2 separate regions of the Homo sapiens genome follow, and region 1 is linked to region 2. The links are contacts of gene promoters, found by promoter capture Hi-C in blood cells and fetal thymus (Javierre and others, 2016). All regions are on one chromosome and are shown on one strand. The core of a region is centred on a gene start or on the middle of the fragment in contact, and the rest is flanking DNA. Distances in the headings are between cores, read along the strand shown. Region 1 overlaps TOP2B (DNA topoisomerase II beta). Region 2 holds the start of NR1D2 (nuclear receptor subfamily 1 group D member 2).

Evidence for each region. The method cuts DNA at HindIII sites, captures the fragments that hold promoters and counts their contacts. A CHiCAGO score of 5 or more calls a contact.
Region 1: a contact is called between a fragment that was not itself captured here and the fragment with the promoter of NR1D2 in region 2, in 1 of 17 cell types (total CD8 T cells). The highest score is 6.1, in total CD8 T cells.

What each region holds. Positions count from the first base shown.
Region 1 is chr3:25,624,469-25,627,487 of GRCh38, forward strand. TOP2B (DNA topoisomerase II beta) reads right to left here. Exons shown (of 36, transcript NM_001330700.2): 16 at 2,719-2,828; 17 at 2,304-2,396; 18 at 2,092-2,206; 19 at 214-335. Among named protein-coding and RNA genes, the nearest start is that of TOP2B, 39 kb to the right of the region's middle. The HindIII fragment of the contact is 750 bases long and covers 986-1,735 here.
Region 2 is chr3:23,943,797-23,947,025 of GRCh38, forward strand. NR1D2 (nuclear receptor subfamily 1 group D member 2) reads left to right here and starts at 1,490. Exons shown (of 8, transcript NM_005126.5): 1 at 1,490-1,798. The coding sequence starts at 1,783. LOC124909354 (a long non-coding RNA gene) reads right to left here and starts at 1,384. Exons shown (of 2, transcript XR_007095845.1): 1 at 1-1,384. It also overlaps a transcript of NKIRAS1 not described here. RefSeq lists silencers at 1,354-2,543, 2,040-2,581. The HindIII fragment of the contact is 14,696 bases long and covers 1-3,229 here.

The DNA.
Region 1 (3,019 bases), core at 111-2,610, 1.7 Mb after region 2:
CATAACATTAATATTCTAAATTTTCTATAATTACTCCCCAACTTGAATTAAAATCCAAGTGAAGAATAAAGGCTTTAGAATCTCACTAATCTGTATATTCTCTTAATTCTTTTACATTTCCAAAGACTTTACTAAAGGAAAAATACTATGTGTAATTATCATTCTTCAAGACAATAATTACAGTTCTCAATTGATTCCAATCTTAATGCTTACTTCTCCATGATGATAAGCCGACATCTCAGCAACAGAGCCAGCCAACTGGGCAACTTTTACTTCACGTTTATCATTCCTCTTGAAACAGGTAAATAAAACTTTCCGCTGGCCAGGTTTAAAGCCTATTTTTAAAAGAGCTCTTTTAAAATGTTACTTCAAGATATAGTTGTAACAATTCAGGGGAATAAAGCAAAGATACAATTTGCTTTTCAAGAACACCAGTAAAATTGTTACTTGAGATTCTGTAACAAAGTGAGTACATACTAACACGTTTGTTTTGTTTGTTTGTTTTTTCCTAGAAAGCCATCTGCAGGTATATACTAAGATGTTTTTATGCCATCTCCATCTACTCCAAAAGTGAACTGCCAATTGAAAGACAACATTCTGGCCTTAAAGAATCACCTAGTGGTACCAAACTCCTTTAACAGTAGTTTCCAAACACTCAAACAACCAAAACGCCATTTGTAGCTAACTAAATTGCCAGCATGCCATCAAGGAGCCTGAAATCTATTCTAAGTATCCCACATCAGGAAAACCCTTATAAAAAGCGATTTATTGTGGTAGTGAAGAATAAAGGCTTTAGAATCTCACTAATCTGTATATTCTTCTCAACTTGGCCATTTACCATGTGACTAAGCAAATAACTAGTAAGTCTATGTCCTCATCCAAGTAATAGAAATAATTACTTTCTTAATATAGTTTTCATAAGGATTGCATGAAACAATGTGAGCAAATCACTCTGCTCCCTTACCATTCTTCTTGCTCTAGGCCAAGCTTGTCCAACCCGTGGCCCGTGGGCTGCATGTGGCCCAACACAAATTTGTCAGTTTTCTTAAAACATCATGAGGTTTTTTGTTTGTTTGTTTTTGCGATTATTTTTGTTTTTTGGTTTTTTTGCAATTATTTTTGTTTTTTGTTTGTTTTTGTTTTAAGCTCATCAGCTATCGTTAGTGTTAGTGTATTTTTACATGTGGCCCAAGACAATTCTTCCTCTTCCAATGTGGCCCAGGGAAGCCAAAAGGTTAGACACCCTGGCTCTAGGCCAATAAGCACAGTAACAATCTTTTCAGTATATGCTATCACTGTAATCATACTGGACCCAGAGTATGGTAAAAACATGAGGATGATAAAATATGGCAACTTCTTTAAGAATTTTGTAATCTAATTCTAGAGGCAAAATGAACAAAGGTAAAATAAGAGGTACATAATAATTGGTATAGAAGTTTAGGTATCTAAGACCAATTTAGAGTAGAATTGCTAGGAAGGCTTCATAGAAGAAAGGCGATTTGTGGCTAGAACTTGAGGGATAGGTAGAAACATCTGCTATTACCAGAAAAGCCAAGCAATACAAAGATCAACAAACTTCATAAAGGTTATGAGAAAAAAAAAAGTTCTAGATAGAAGATCAAAATCTGCTTCAACTAACGAGAAATAGTTTCTAAATTTTTTTCAAATTAGAAATAGTTCCTAAATTTTTTTCAAGTTAAGTTAAAGCATTAGGCTTTGGGTAATACAGAATAAAAGCTTTTTAAAATTTAATCTCTGATAAATATTTTAGAAATTATCAAAGTTCCATTTTACTTTTTTAGAAAATCTGCAGACAACTTGGGCAAAAGCTTTAAGACTTTTAAAGTTAATTTTCCTGAAAAACTCGGAAAAGGTTTAAAAGTTTCAAATTAAGGAATATTAAAGATTTCAGCACTATGAAAACATAAAACAAAAGCAAAATCAAAAAGGCCTTAAATTCCTCTGAATAAGCTCTTCATATACAAGATTTAAAGTAAGAATTTTAATATGTATCATAAGGATGGCTTAAAGTACATGAAATTAAACTATAGTAAATAACATTAAAAAATGAGGTTTTTAAATATTACTCACCATCAACAAGAGATGGTATAGATCTTTCATTGTCTGAGTTTGAGAAGAGAATCAATTCCTTGTTGATGAAATCATTATAAGTCAAATGCTTTGTTGCAGTACCATATAAAAATTGCTAAGAGAAAAGTTATATAGCAATATTATCATTATTACTGCATGAATTCTAGTCTCTCTCTCCTTCTTTCCCCAGGTCACCACTCTTTAAGACTAACCTCTGGTAAGCCATGTAGCCTACGCTGTCTCCGGTCTTCCATAAAATTTGTTAACCATTCTTTTCTGTCATCAATCTTCTTCTTACTAAATGCCTGAAAGATTCCAGGTAACGATTTTGCACATTAAAAATAAAATAAATTTTATTACAAAATTAAAATGTATAAGTGGCCAATAACTAATTCTTAATTTCTGGAAAATTAGGTTATTTTACAATATTTTAATCAAAAACACATTTAAACTAAGGTCTTTCAATTAAAGAAGTTTATACAAGCACAGCATCATCTGGGGGAAAAATTAAAATTAACTAGCTTGAGCATTCAAAAGAGACTTATCATAGGGAACCAGGACTGGGAGGAAAGGAATAGAAGGTAGGGGGATGGCTAACAAAAGCTTTTAAAAAATTAACTTAATTACCAAGGTAATGGCAGCATCATCTTCAGGACCAGCATATCTAAACAAGATGCGATGCCTTTCCATATCAGCAAAATATTCCTTTGCTTCTTTAGCTGTACTAGTACCCAATCCTGCACAATTTTAAAAATAAAAGTGAGTCATGAATATCAATGTCTGTTTAAAACCATCAAGTAAAAAGCTGGTGGAAAAGTTGTAATAGATGGATCAAGCTGGCAACACCTATACTAAGTGATCAATCTTAATAAGCAACTAAAGACAAAGTAGACATTAGATGCTTCCTGATGAAAGCACACAACGCTAC
Region 2 (3,229 bases), core at 240-2,739:
CTGTGTTTAGAAGGGTTTGGGTATCAAGACAGCCTTGGAAAGAGAAGCAGGACCCACATCTGTGCAGGGCGAAGCAGGTCAGGTTAAGTCGTTGAATTTTTTCAAAGTGTAACACGAAGCCATTGGAGGGTTTTCAGCAGAGTAATCAGATCTTATTTACATTTTAAAAATAATACTTTGACTGCTGGGGAGAAGTGACTGTAGGAGGACCCAAGAAGCACTCTCCTAGTTAGGGAACCAGAGCAGTAGCTGAGGCAAGAGATAATGGTTTGCTCTAGCAATACCAACGGTGAGAAACAGGGATTGAACATATTTTGAAGGTAGAATAGCTCAGACTTGCTAATGGATTGAATGGAGAATAAAAGGCTGTGAGAGTGTTAGGAGAGAAACATAATTTTGCTGGCTTCAGGAACTTGCAGATTTACCAAAACAGTAAATATTGATATGGTGAAGAAACCTGGGGGGTGGGGAAATAGGGTGTTGCACATGTAAATATGTCTTCCACGTGACATTTTCCCCACCTTCTATAGTGAAGAATTTCAGAGCAAACTGGAAAGAGTTTTACAAGCAACACCCATATCCCCATCGCCTAAGTTTAACATCTTACCATATCATCTATTCATGCCTCTATCAGCCCATCTTACTTCAGTAATGCGTTTAAATTGCGGGCATCAATGCACTTTCCTCAGAATTCACCTCAGCACGCATACAATTTATGTCTAGCTTTTTTCTTTTGATCTAAAATTTACATTCAAGGTGAAACGCCCAGATCTTGACTGCACATTAGCTGAGTTCGGACACACGCGTACACCCGTCTAAAATCTGAGATGCAAAAAAGCGGCATAATCAAACGGGCTGCTGGATGTAGGAATCTGGAGATTAGAAGAGAGGTCTTGGCTTGAAATATAAATCTGGGAATCACAAGAACATAGGTCTACTTAAGCTATGAGATTGGATAAAATCACCTAGAGGGTGCAGAGGGAAAGGGAAGGGTCTGTGCCCTCAGAGACCAGCGTTTGGAGGTCGGTCGGGTGGGAGCGGGGGGTGGGGGTGGGGGGCGCAAGGGTTGAGCAAGCCCGAACCAGCCGGCCCAGCCGGGGTCCTGAGAATCACCCTTGCTCGGCGCCAAGCCACCGCTTTGACCTAAGAGCCACCAGGTTGGGGGGCAGGGCGTGGAGAGGACTCCCGGCCAGAGGCGGGAAAGGCAGCCGGGAGGAGAGGAAAGAGGAGGAGGAGGGGAGGAATATGCGGCGGAGGGAAACGGAGAAGAGGTTTACGGCACGGAGGGGAAAAACGAAGGAAGAGGAGGGGCTCGGCAAGGAGAAGGAAGGGGAGAAGGGGGAAGCGCAGGAGAAAAGGGTAGCCGGGGAGCCGGGAAGCGGGCGGGAGGGAGGGGAGCGGCGGGGCGGAGGTCGCCGCAGCGGCCGGCCGAGGGCGGGCGGAGGGAGGGGGTGTGTGCGCGGGTCACATGGTCGCGGCTGCCCTCCCCGTCAGCCGCCCTCGCCGCCGCGGTGCGCTGGCTGCAGGAAGCCGCCGCGCCGCCGCTTTTGTTGTCAGGGACCCAGCGAGGAGCGCCGCTCGCCGGCCGCCGCCACCCTCTCTCGCTGCAGCCTGCTGTGCGCTGCACGGCCTGGGGCCCGGGAGCCCCGCCCGCTCTGCCCATGAGGGGGCCCCGCGACCACCGCTGCTTCCAGCCCGGGGCGGCGCGGCGCTGAGGCGGCGGCGGCGGCGCTGCCCCCTCTGCGGGAAGCGGGCGGCCCCGGCCGCCTCCGCGAGGGCACCATGGAGGTGAATGCAGGTAAGAACCGGACTGCGGCGGGTGGGGGATGGCCGGAGGGAGCGCTCAGAGCCCGCGGGGCACTTTGGGGGGCGGCGGCAGGGGGTGTCCCCATGGCCGGTGGGGCGGGGTGGGCTGCTGCGCGCCGCGTGTCCGCCTCTGGCTCGGTTCCCATCGCCCCCCGGGCCGCCCGGCGCCCGCCCTCTTGTCTCCCTGCAAAGCCGCAGCGCGGCCTGCCGGCGCCCGGCCCGGCCCCCCCCTCACATGGCCCGGCCGCGCGAGCCACGTGCGCGCTGTGTTTACGTTCGGCGGCGCGCGGGCGCCGGTTGGCTGGGCGGGCGCGTGACGCGGCATTACATAATGGGCGCTGAGGCGGCGGCGGCGGGCGGGGACACGTGAGGCCGCTCGGCTCCCTGACCCACATTCCCCGGGGCCGCAGGGACACGTGGGGGCGGGGGCGCGCGCGCGCGCGCTGGCTGGGAGCGCCGCAGCCTCCCGGGAGGCTCCGCCCCTTTGGAAGCCTCGGGGCAGTGACGTCGCCGCGATTCCCTCCTCCCCCGCGGGGTTGCACACTGCGGAGGAGGCCGCGCGTGCGCGCCCGCTGAGCCCCCGCGGCGGGGCGTCCCCGAAGCGGGCGCTGACACCGCAGTGCACCGGACGCCGCACGCTCTTTTCGCGAGGTGACCCCAAGGCGCGGACCCCGCGCAAACCAAACGAACCGGCGCCTGGGGAGGCTGGTAGCTGCATACCTTGCAGATTCCGAGGAGGAAGTGCAGGACGAGGGCGTGCTGCAGGCCGGAGGAGGCGCCTCGGGGAAGGCGTGGGGCTTTCCCGAAGGGATACGCTCGAAGGAGCTCTGAGGTGCTTCGATCCCGAGCGACTCCCCGCAGACTGGGTAGCACCGCCCCTGTTAGGATGCCGTCTGTTTACAAAAAAAACCGTTTGCTCTAGGACGCGACCTGTCTCATACACACACAGTCTTAAAAACTGCTTCCAGATCCCTTCGGGCTGGAGTTTTCCAGTAAACGGGTCACACCCGCAGCTGAGCGTGCAGCTCACGTATGGTCAGGATGACTCAGGTGATCATAGGTGACTCCAACACCATATGTAAGACTGGACATTCTTCATTTAAATTAAAAAAAAATTAACCTGTGGGTCGCTGACTTTTCCTGAATCTGATCAAGAGAATTTGGCTTTATAAATATTTTTCTTGTCACATTTTGTTACATTGCAACGGAACAACAGGGTGCCCTTCCCTCCTTTTGTCTGCCCCAAATGATGAGGTAGATCTGAAGTGAGTGAGGTTATGGAAACAGCCAGCTTTTGTTTTATTTTTTGAGTTGCAATGCGCCTCTAAGAATCTTGCCTCGATAACAAATGTATTGTGAACTTTTCACCAAAAGTAAAAATAAAGTCACTTTCTAATTTTATTTACGTATTTTTAGAATTTAC